Linked DNA regions of Homo sapiens: regions 1, 2 and 4 are each linked to region 3. The links are contacts of gene promoters, found by promoter capture Hi-C in human tissues and cell types (Jung and others, 2019). All regions are on one chromosome and are shown on one strand. Each heading gives the region's core, a stretch centred on a gene start or on the middle of the fragment in contact. The rest is flanking DNA. Distances are from core to core; before and after follow the strand shown.

What was found. The method cuts DNA at HindIII sites, captures the fragments that hold promoters and counts their contacts. A contact is called where the count stands out against the background at its distance.
Region 1: a contact is called between a fragment that was not itself captured here and the fragment with the promoter of SEMA5A in region 3, in 1 of the 25 tissues and cell types used here (mesenchymal stem cells).
Region 2: a fragment that was not itself captured here is called in contact with the fragment with the promoter of SEMA5A in region 3 in 1 of the 25 tissues and cell types used here (H1 embryonic stem cells).
Region 4: a fragment that was not itself captured here is called in contact with the fragment with the promoter of SEMA5A in region 3 in 1 of the 25 tissues and cell types used here (hippocampus).

Annotation. Positions count from the first base shown.
Region 1 is chr5:9,269,323-9,272,151 of GRCh38, forward strand. All of the region lies in intron 5 of SEMA5A (semaphorin 5A), which reads right to left. Among named protein-coding and RNA genes, the nearest start is that of MIR4636, 220 kb to the left of the region's middle. The HindIII fragment of the contact is 5,003 bases long and covers 1-2,829 here.
Region 2 is chr5:9,838,035-9,840,860 of GRCh38, forward strand. The region is part of intron 4 of LINC02112 (long intergenic non-protein coding RNA 2112); the gene reads right to left. It also overlaps a transcript of TAS2R1 not described here. Among named protein-coding and RNA genes, the nearest start is that of LINC02221, 15 kb to the right of the region's middle. The HindIII fragment of the contact is 3,052 bases long and covers 49-2,826 here.
Region 3 is chr5:9,544,506-9,547,630 of GRCh38, forward strand. It overlaps SEMA5A (semaphorin 5A), which reads right to left and starts at 1,570. Exons shown (of 23, transcript NM_003966.3): 1 at 1,079-1,570. It overlaps SNHG18 (small nucleolar RNA host gene 18), which reads left to right and starts at 1,695. Exons shown (of 3, transcript NR_045196.2): 1 at 1,695-2,025. RefSeq lists a silencer at 1,504-1,693. The HindIII fragment of the contact is 8,719 bases long and covers 1-3,125 here.
Region 4 is chr5:9,287,770-9,290,706 of GRCh38, forward strand. All of the region lies in intron 5 of SEMA5A (semaphorin 5A), which reads right to left. Among named protein-coding and RNA genes, the nearest start is that of SEMA5A-AS1, 220 kb to the right of the region's middle. The HindIII fragment of the contact is 3,986 bases long and covers 1-2,937 here.

The DNA of each region.
Region 1 (2,829 bases), core at 122-2,621, 280 kb before region 3:
TAGATATTAATAATAATCACCTATTGTGTTGGAGCTGTGACTTGTATCTGACTCAGTAGAAAGACAATGGAGATGGCTATGGAATTCCTAAAAAGTACAAGAACAGTATTTGTGTTCTGGCTTGGTTTTGATTAGCTATGCAACCTTGAGCAAATGGCCTCACCTGTCTAAGTTAGCGTACTCACTTGAAAATATGGGGAGAAAATAATAAATGCCCTAATTACCAAAAAATGGTGAGGTAGAGCTTGAAGGAGATAATGTTCATGAAAATATTCTTGTTAACACTAAAATAGAATAGAAACATTGTAATTACAACTGCTGTTGTAAGAGTAGCAAAAGAGACATAAAATATAAAATGTAAGATTATACATGGTGGTGACCTTAAGGCTTCTATAAATTTTTATAAAATATCTATTTATATTCTCTATGTCTATATACATAGTATGAAATGTAATAAATCTGCATATGCAAAACATAAGAATTAGTTCTAACACTCACTTCTGAGTTAGGAAGCCAGTGTTATTAAATTCCGTATGACAATGAACTCCATCCAGTCCCCTTTTTACAGCTGCACAGAGAAGACTTAGTAGAGTAGGCCTGAGACTGTCATCCTAGAAGGGCCTGCTTGCAAAATTGGCCCCTTAGCTGGTTTCTGGGAGCTCAGATATCAGGAGGGTTTCCACAATTCCCTGTTAAAAACGGCTCACTGTGCCTCAATTATTAATACATGCAAGGTGGTTTACGCAAGCATCTGCTTTCCTTCCAGGAGTCTGCAATTTTAATACATTCCAGGCAGAGAGGTCCTGTGTGATCTGCCCGCAGGAGAAACCCAGGGCATTGAGCCTCTCTGGTAGACAACACTCTCCTCGTGTTGTCACAATTTGCTGATGGAAGGATTAAGTGCATCCAGTGTGATTCCACTGGAAGAAGACTCTTGGAAGATCACACCTTGTTTTCTTCATGATCTATCCATGCACCTCTTGTCTTTGCTAATTTTTTTTTCCTTCACTGTAATAAATCACAGCCATGCATGACTACATATTGAGTCCTTGAGTCCCGGAGAATTATTGAACCTGGGGTGATCTACGAGAACCTCAATTCAATAGCATTACAAATCTATATGGAAATGACAATTTTCAGAGATAGATGACCCAAAACTTGAGCAAGTCCCATAGGAAACAATAACAACTCTTTCTAGATTCTGGCCAGAAAAGGAAGTATGAAAGGTACTGAGAGCGGGGGAAAGTCGAGTCTGGTTGGAAACACAGCATTCACTTTGGGAGCACATTCTCAGGTTGCCTGAGAACTGACTAGAGATGCTTCCAATATACCTAGAAAGCAGCAGCCCAGATTTGGCATACTCTGATGTTGGGGCAGCGGGTGGGGGCAGGGGGAGGAGGGTTTCCCCAGGACAAGGTTAAGGAGCTTTGCTTTACCTGGAACTTCTGGTCAAAAAAGAAAAAAAAATAGATTAAATATAAGCCATAATGTTATTGAGATCTAAGAGGCAGACTTCTCCAATGTACATCAGAGTAGCAAACTACAGCCTGTGGGTCAAATCCAGCCCATTGCCTATTTTCTGATCACTTGCTTGCTAAAAATAGGTTTTATATTTTCACATATTGAAGAAAGAATTTGTGAATGTTTGCTTTCTCCTTTTTAACATAAGGAACTTGATACGGTTTTGTTCTCTGTCCCCACCCAAATCTCACGTTAAATTGTAACCTCCACATATCGGGGAGGGGCCTGGTGGGAGGTCTTTGGATCATAGTGACAGATTTCCCCCATGCTGTTCTCCTGATAGTGACTGAATTCTCATGAGATCTGATGGTTTAAAAGCATGTGGCACTCCCCCGTTTACTTGCTCTCTCTTCTGCTCCTCCATGGTAAAACGTGCTTGCTTACCCTTTGCCTTCCACCATAATTGTAAGTTTCCTGAGGCCTCCAGGCCATGCTTCCTGTTAAGCCTGTGAAACTGTGAGTCCATTAAATCTCTTTTCTTCATAAATTACCCATTCTCAGGTAGTTCTTTATAGCACTATGAGAATGAACTAATAAAGAAAATTGGTAACAGGAGTGAGGTACGGCTATAAACATAACTGAAAATGTGAAAGCGACTTTGGAACTGAGTAACAGTTAGGGGCTAGAACAGTTTGGAGGGCACAGAAGAAGATAGGAAAATGTGGAAAAATTTAGAACTTGCTAGAGACTTACTGAATGGTTTTTGACCAAAAGGCTGATAGTAATAAAAACAAAGAAGGGGACTGCTGGCAAGATGGCAGAATAGGAACTGCAGCTCCCAGCAAGATCAATGCAGAAGGTGGGTGATTTCTGCTTTCCCAACTGAGGTACCTAGTGCATCTCATTGGGACTTGTTGGACAGTGGGTGCAACCCAAGGAGGGCAAGCCAAAGCAGGGTGGGGCATCACTTCACCCGGGAAGCACAATGGGTCAGGGAACTCCCTCTAGCCAAGGGAAGCCATTAGGGATTGTACCATGCACTCCGGCCCAGATACTGCACTTTTCTCACGCTCTTCACAACCCACAGACCAGGAGATTCCCTCCAGTGCCCACACTACCAGGACCCTGGGGTTCCAGCACAAAACTGGGCGGCTGTTTGAGCAGATACCAAGCTAGCCACAGGAGTTGTTTTTTCATACCCCAGTGGCACCTGGAGCACCAGCGAGACAGAATCATTCACTCCCCTGGAAAGGGGGCTGAAGCCTGGGAGCCAAGTGGTCTGGCTTGGCAGGTTTCAACCCCACAGAGCTCAGCAACCTAAGATCTACTGGCTGGAAATTTTCACTGCTAGCACAGCTGTCTGAGCTA
Region 2 (2,826 bases), core at 325-2,824, 290 kb after region 3:
CTATGGTGAGCATCTCTGTCAAGTCCATGGATGAAATGCAGAGACAACCCCCCCAGGGCAGGAGTCTCCAAACCAGGATGATGATCAGAATCACTTTGGGAAGCTTTGAAAAAGCACAGATCCCTGGGTATAGACCCCAGAATTTCTGACTTTCCAGGTCTGGGATGGGGTCTGAGTATCTGTAAAAGTGCCCAGGAATCTTTTGGTGCTCTGCTGTGGTGCGCCCCGTCTCTGCACCTCTAGTCCATCCTCACCCTTCTCCAGGCATATCTGTGGGCCCCTGGTTTTTTTCCCAGAAGCCGAGTCTGAGAAAGATCAAGAGTATGTGGGAAAGAGGAGAATGAAGGAGCGAATAGAATACGCCTCTTAAAATGTAGACACCCAATCTGAACATCTGCCCCTCATGCCAGCCAAGACAGCTCCTGAGCCATATTTTTTCATCCCTGATATGCGAAGAAAAAGCTACAAAGCAGGTTGCCTGTTATGCATACATGATGTGAAATGACACCTCAAGGTACAGCTTTCTGTTCTTCAGCAGCTGAGGTTATCACTGACATTTGCCTCTGATTCTCATATCCACAGTTATGAAGATGGAATAAACCAGGGGTTCTGAGAGCTTTAAATGCTGGACAGTACTTCTGCTCCGAAAGCACAACTCTCCTCTGCATCAACTCCTAGCAAGCCCAATAAAATGGATTCTTGGATATACATTTTTTAGGAAGAGAGTAAGATGCAATGTTCTATTAGGAAAGGAAGCTCAGTTCCTTAAGGTCATCTTCAACGCTGGAAATGATTCACATTTGGAACACTGACCTCCCGTGCTTTTTCTGAGGTGTGTTTCAACACCAACAGCAGGCTAAACCAAACATCTGAAATGCAGTGAGAGCTGGATGGTTAGAAGGCTCTGGTTTCAGACCTGGACTAACTGGACACTGAAATCTGGGCTGGAGTACTTATTCCAGAAGCCGATGGAAAAACATCACGTTTTAAAAGTCAAATCCTTGACTCAGGATCATAACATCATCAGCATCGAGCAGGTCTCTGTTATCACCACAGTGATGAAGCCTGAGCTGCGCAGCCGCTAGGGTAAAGAGGGCTCTGTGCTCAGCTCTGTGAAGACAAGGAGGCAGATTCTCAAGAGCTTAGAGCTTTGCACAGCTGCAGAGTGGGCAGGGATGAATGCAGGAGAGGGAGTGGGAAAGCAGCACAGACACGGTAAAAGGAAAAATAATTTAGGCTGATGGAACTCTCAGGTTTCCGACACTCAAACTGCCATGTGAAAAGCAAGTGGTAAGAATTCATATATGATATCAGCAATAAAATAACATCCTGTTGTACAACAAAATACACTGAAAGACAACCTTTAGTCTTTTATAACGACAAGCAGATCTCATAAGTAAATGAAAAGCTAGTCCATTACTCTTTTTATTCCTTAAAACAAAATAAAAAAAGAAAAGCTTTCAGTGACATGATGAAATTACTATCACAACACTCTTGACAATCTCCAAATAGGGAAGGTGTGTTTCTACGCTGAAACAGGAGAAATTGTGCTTGAGGAATCCAATAAGTACAAAGTGACTCAAAGCTCTATCACAGCTGTCAATAAAGAATGAACAGACAAAATTCTTCACAGGCTTAACATGAGAGGCATTGAGCGTTTTGCAAGGCTGAACAACAGACGGGTAGTTTTTGCATGTGCAGTGCTGTCAGAAGTTGTAAAAGTAAACACACGTCTTTTTTTTTTTAAGGTAGTCCATTACAGGTAATTACATATTTAAAGTATAGTCATTTTTCCTGCCTTCCATATTTAACTATTCTTATCTCAGTCATTTTAATACAGAATACTTAATGTAATCGATTTTTATATTTCTAGGGGAAAGGAAACTTCTAGCCCCTTTGCAGGCCAAACCCAATTTGGCTTACCATTCTAGACTTTCGTCCTCCCAGAAGGATTCTGAATCCAACTCTTTAGGAAAATGACTTTGAATGGGTTGTGATTACAAGCAAATGAGATGAAAAGAGTCAACGTTTTGGACTCTTGCTCTCCTTGCTACCTTGTATTTCAGCTGCATAAAGTTCCCTGGTGAGATTTTGCCACCTATGTCATTGATTACATCAATGTGAGCTGCAGGAAGGGTGAGCTAAACTGAGGACTGTCTGCACAAGTGAGATATTCCTCACTCTTCTTCAATTTACCACGAAAACAGGGTAGCTCTGAGCCTCAAAAAAGTGTAGCTCAGACTTCTGGGATTCACATTAACTCATCCAACCATCGAGTTTACATCTCCTGTTCAATCTCTTTCAGAGTTCTTTATCTGAATGAATGGCACCAATATTCATCTTGTTTTTTATCCTTCCCATCTTTCTCCTCTACCATCCATTTTTAGTTATTCATATCTTATTATCTTTTGGTGGTGACTATAAAGATTAGGGCATGCACTCTTCTTGACTATTTAAACTCTAACATGAATTAAGATTTTTACCACTATCTTAATGTTACATTAACTCCATTTATTCCCTTATGTTTTTTGAATTGTTGTCATGCATTTTAATTCTATATATTCCTATATATTTTAGATCCCAAGGCTTTATCATTTTGTACAGTCAATGTTCATTTATATTTATCACTTATGTTGCTCTTCATTTCTTACTGTATTTCTGTGTTTCTGATAGGATTACTTTTATTTTCCCTGAAGAACTCCATTAGAATATTTTTAGTGAAGGTGTGCTAGTAACAAACTCTTTCAGTTTTTATCTAAAAATGTTATCTATTCACATTCACTTTATTTTTCATTTTATTTTATTTATTTATTTATTTATTTATTT
Region 3 (3,125 bases), core at 320-2,819:
TCCCCCAACCCCCGGCCCCCAAAATGAAATTATTGCAAGATCTGCCTGGTTCTGCTGTTTGTTGCCTGGGACTCCCGCCCACTCGCCCAGGACCCAGCAACTGCCTGTGGCGCCTCGTCCTCCGAGCGCTCGCTCGCAGCGCCCCCTGCCGGGAATCCCGAGGACGCCGCAGGCGCAGGAAAGTTAAATCCCAACTCCGGCCGCGGCATCCTGGTACAAAGCAAGCAAAGGGCGAGGAGGTGAACGCGCTTCCCGCCAAAGCCAGGGGAACAGGGATGTGACCGCTCCAAGCCAGGCACCGGCCGCCGCGGGGAGCGAGCCGGGGGAATCACTCCTCCACGACCGTTCCCACGCACATCTTGGGAGAAACCATTCCCTCTGGAGCCCGATCTGCCCGAAACCCTGGGGTCTGAAACCCTGAGCCGCGGTGTGCAAAATCCGTGGAGCAGCGGAGGGATGCCTGGTGAAAGGGGCTCGCCTAGCTGCAGCGCACCTGGCTGGTGGTTCCCCAGGCCTCTGCATCCCCCGCCTTAGTGTCTTTCATTAACCAAGGCGCTTGGCGGAGTTGAGCCCAAGTCCCATTGCCTCCCGGTTCCCCTGTAAGGAAAGCAGGAAAACCTGCCCAAGCCGGTGGGGCTGCGAGGTGGCCGCTCCCGAACCGCCAAGTCCCGACCTCCGTGTCCCCTGCCCCCGGCTCGCGGCAGTGCGAGCCTGGAGGCGCGCCGGGGGCGGGCACAGACCAGTGTGCGCACCTTTCCGGGTGTTGGGCAGGGGTCCCGTCTCGCCCACCGCGACACTCCGGCTCCTTACCTCTCCATGCTCAGACCTCGGCACAGGCGGGTACACAAACTTCCAGCCCGTGCACTAGCTCAACTGTGGGCGCCCCCGGACTGACGGTCGTCCTAATCCTGTACGCGCAACCCCCGCCCAGGTGCCTGCTGATGGATCCCACCCGAGATCGGCACCACCCACCAGCCGACCGCTGCAGTCCCCGGGTCCCGGCCAGCGGCGCGGCGCGGCGCGGCGCGGTCAGGGGCTCCTGCCAAGGCCACGCAGGAATCGGGCGGGGGTCGCTCACCAGGTGCGAGGAGCGCTGGTGCCAGTCATCCAGCGCCTGGGGGCCAGAGCGGCTCCGAGGATCCTCTTCAGCACCTGGCTAGGGAAGTGGAGGCAGCAGCTGCAGCCGCCCCCTGCCACTTCCCCAGAGCCGCCCCCTACTCGCTGAGTTCCAGAATGGGGGCACCGGCTTGGGGGCCACGAGCACGGTCCCCGAGCGCGCGGCCAACCGGTGGGTGGGCAGGTTCGCGCCCAGCAGAGACGACCCTCGAGGTGGCAAAGTTGGGTGTCCAAGCCAGCTCCGCGGGGCAGTCCTGGGTGGGAGAAGGGAGCGTCCCGGGATGAGCGACACTGGCCGGGCCGCCCCTGCACGGGGAAGGTGGAGGGCCGGGGCTGCAGCGGGCCAAGGGCCGCGGCTGGCCTGAGGCTGCGAAGCCCACCCGCGGCGGGAAAGCAGCGCTCGGGAGCGGGCTCAGGGAGAGCAGCCGCCACCGGCGCCGCCTTCCCGGCAAGTAGATCGGCGCGGGGCGAGCGGGCGCGGAGAGCGCGGGGCGGAGAGCGCTGGGCGGGGAGCGGGGGACAGCCTGGGCCCACCCCCGCCCCGCCCCGCCCCTGCCCCGCCCCCGCCGCCGCGCCGCCTCCTCCTCCTCCTCCTCCCCGCCGGGGTGAAACTCGAGCGCCCCACCCGCGCCTGACCTCCCCGAGCCCCTCCCCGGGCCCCGCCCCTTCCCGGTACAGGACCCCCACCTTCGCTCCTGGGAGCCCCGCTGCACCCCAGGAGTTCCATTCCAGCCTCCCCAGTGCGAGTGCGGCCGAGCGCTGACTTTTGGGGGCTCCCTCCCCCGTCTCACTGGGTCCCTCTGCGGCTCCCCCGCCCGCTGTCCCGGTTCAGACGTGGCTGCACCCCGGAGGGGGGCGCCGGCCGAGACCTGAGACGTGGCGCTCCCTCTCTGCCGGCCTCGGCTTCAGGTACGTGCGGTTCCCTCGGCTAAATCTGGCCCGGGGGATGGGGGGCAGGGGCCGTCTGGTCCTCCGGAACTCGAACTTTGTGATTTTGTTCTTTCTGTGTGACATCCTCATCCGTTCTGAGGGAGAAACTCCTTAAAGAAGACGAGAGAGTCAGTCGTTGCGGGTTCTTGGAGGAGCACTTTGGGGGTGAGACTCCCGGCTAGTTCGGGTCGATTTCAGCGGGATTAAGTCAAGGAAATGAACAAATCTGACGAATCAGGGAGGCCAGAGAAGGCGTCCCCAGGTAGCCACGCTGAGCGTTAAGAGAGAAGTCCCGTATGGTCAAAGTCATTCGTCCAATTCTGTGTCAATTATTCCTTGTTGCACTTTTGCAGGATCCTTGGGCCTTACTAAGTACTCAGGTGAAAAGTTGATAATTGGGAAGCAAGTAAAGTACCTTTGAAGACGTGTATAATTGGACACTTTGTTGCAGTTCTTCAGTTTCTGGAGGAGGCGGTGGGGGGGGAGAGGGAGGGGGTCAGCCTCGCGAAAAGAGCAAATGGTAAAGTTATAGGAGTATAAGGCATAAAACTTGGGTTGGGAGTCCTGACTGGCCTTGAGTGGCCCTTTCCCACTGGATGGGGGTGCGGGACAGTATCTCTGGGCCCTTTTTACTCAGTCTGCGCCTCAGAGGGAGGCTTGAAGGTCCCCTGCATGAGGAAATGTGTGAATTGCCCCCTCCTGACCGCAGTGAGGTAGGGACCCCCGCAAGGACCCACGTTCACACCAGCGCCCTTCCAGCCAGTGGTGGGGTATGGATGGGCCTCGCTGGTCCTGGGCATGGTCCGGTGCGTCCATAAGGGTTCCATTGAGCTCATCCATAAAACAAAGAAGCTATTGCAGGCTGCAGGGTGTCATAGCTCGCACAGTAGCCATGCAGACCTAAGAGGACAATGGAAATACAAATTGCTATCGATGTGTCTTTATTTTCTAGAACTTTTTTTTAAAATAAAAGAATTAAGTGAAAGCAATTCCGAAGGTTTCTATGAAAGCCCAGCCCATCCCCAAATGCCCAGTCTCTGGCACGGGTGATCTGGCTGTCTTGGGTACTCAGGCCTTAC
Region 4 (2,937 bases), core at 76-2,575, 260 kb before region 3:
GCCTGCAAAGTCTCTGCATTTACTATCTGGCCCTGTACAGAAAATGTTTGCAAAGTCTTGCTCTAGCCAATTATGGCAAAGTAACTTAAAAATTATTTCCCTCAAGCCCTAATTTTTAAAAAATAAAATGTCATCATGTTCAACCAAACTCAATAGATTCTGAATATCCTTCCAGATATTCTGAATATTCTGAATACCAGAATAGTAGATTCTGAATATTGCTGTCTTCAAAAACACTTATGGATTAAGAGGATAAGCAAGCAAATGTATAAGATAAATGTAAAAGAGACACATGACATATCTAAAATAGAATTAAAAGCACTTCACAAAACTGGGAAAATATTAAAATATGTTTTAGGATACTTTATGAATCAAGGGTTCTATAGGAATTACGTGACACCATCACATAAGATAATTTGAAGAAGGCTTGACAAGACAACTATCAACAAAGACACAGGTGTGGAAGAGGCAAACACAAGAGTTCCCAGTGGCTACTAAGGGGCCCAAAGGAATGCTGGGGGATAAAGGGTCATAAAGGGAGAGCCAGGTGGGTGTGGCTGCTGCGGTGTGAGGCCAGGGCCACAGCCAGTCCCAGGTAACCCAGTGGCAGCCAGTGGTGGGAATCGCAGCTCGGACTTCCCTCCCCTTTCTCCCACAGGCCTTCCAAGGACCTTTTCCATGGCCCTATCCAGCTGGCCGCGAGAGGGCACAGGGGCATGACAGCAGTCATAGAAGCTTCCCAGTACAGAGGCAGAAACAGACGCTGGGAGGGGCAAGAGAAAATAGCCAGCAGGAGTTCACTTTCTTTCGAAGATGATAAAACAGGAGAAAATAAATGTGAAACTGTTCTCTACAGTGTTTATATTTCTAGCCAAGAACACTCTCATGAATGAAATTCATTTTCTAAAATTAGGGCAATGCTAAGAATAAGTCTTTTCTCCAACATTAAAATAAAAATAAATTTACCAAAAAATGGTTGCATAATGAAGTGGCTGGAACCAAAATGTAGTCTTGGTAAGATTAAGCCCACAGTAGCTAATGTACAAGTTGTAAACTATATCTCATTCATATCATGTTGATATTTGAAAGAAGTAGAAATGAGGACACACAAAAAAAAGGAAAGCATTTTTACCTCATCCTTCAAACAAAAACAAAAGTATTTTTTCTCCCAAAATGATTTTTAAATTAAATGCTTCTTTTGTCAGAAAGTGAATCCTAGCGTAGTGACATTGCCATTGATGGTTTAAGCCTATTAGAGACCTGTGTTGCTCACGAAACATGTTGAATAGGACTCTAACAGTATTTTCACAAATGTTTTTCTCCCACATCCTCATCAATGAGATCTGGCATTTACTTCCAATCAGTGTATATGTCTTCATTTATATATTATAAACACATACAGCTGTGCATGTATATAAGTATATTTTAAATACAGTATACACATCTGAAAATAATGACATCAAGATAAAATGATTGATATTATAAAGTAAATATTATGTTATAGTCTGATTTAACAAAACTTTTTAAACTTAGTGCAATAATTTATGATAGAATGAATTAAAATTCTGTTTTCTACATTCAATTTATATTAATTTTTAGTTTAAAAACTTCTATAACTGAAGTGGACAACTCAAACAGATATATAAATCCAATTTCTTGGGAGGCTGAGGCAGATCGCGAGGTCAGGAGATTGAGAACATCCTGGCTGACACGGTGAAACCCCGTCTCTACAAAAAATACAAAAAATTAGCCAGGCGTGGTGGCACGTGCCGGTAGTCCCAGCAATTCAGGAGGCTGAGGCAGGAGAATCACTTGAACCCAGGAGGTGGAGGTTACAGTGAGACGAGATTGCGCCACTGCATTCCAGCCTGGGTGACAGAGCAAGACTGTCTCAAAAATAAAAAAAAAAAAATCCAATTACATCATTGGCTGTTTTTAATAAATTTTGATATACTACTTTTTCAACTTCATCTGCCAATTAGACAATGTTTTTTGTTGAAATTTGCCAAGCACATTTTCATCTTCACTGATGTCAATATCTTGTGCTCAAAAATTTATCAGAAAGATTAAAAAATGAGCTTAAAGTCCACTGAAACTTCCCTTTTGGGAGTTTTAAAAAAGGGTTAAAAGTACACATAAGACATTTCAAAAGTGAATTTTCTAAATTTATATATTTAAAAATCAGGTAAGATTGTTATTATAGTGATTGTTGAGCATCATCATTAACAACCAATTCACATAAGGACAGAAATCTTCTGAGGTATCTGATTTAAAAATTACTTTTAATTTTTTTATTTCAATAGGTTTTTTGGAAACAGGTGGTGTTTGGTTATATGAATAAGTTTTTTCGTGGTGATTTCTGAGATTTTGGGGGCACCTATCACCCAAGCAGGCTACACTGTACCCAATGTGTAGTCTTTTATCCCTCACCCCCTCCCACCCTTTCCTCTTAGTCCTCAAAGTCCATTGTATCGTTCTTATGCCTTTGAATAATTATAGTTAAGCACTCCCATTATGAGTGAGAACATATGATGTTTGGTTTTCCATTCCTGAGTTACTTCACTTAGAATAATGGTTTCCAGGTCCATGCAGCTTGCTGTAAATGCCATTATTTCATTCATTTTTATGATATACATATATATACACTACATTTTCTTTATCTACTTGTTGACTGATGGGCATTTGGATTGGTTCAATATTTTTGCAGTTGAGTATTGTGCTGCTATATTGCATGAGTTTCTTTTGGAAAGCAATTACGGTCTCATTAATTGTGAAACAAGACAATTTCTTTTCTACAGGTACCTACTATTCATCATACTATTAAAAATAACAGGAAGTTCAGCAAATTTAGATCCCTTATATCTTAAAAAAGGAGAAATAGGTACATAGAGATGATAGCGCTAGATATACAGAAACATTGATATATGTGTATATACA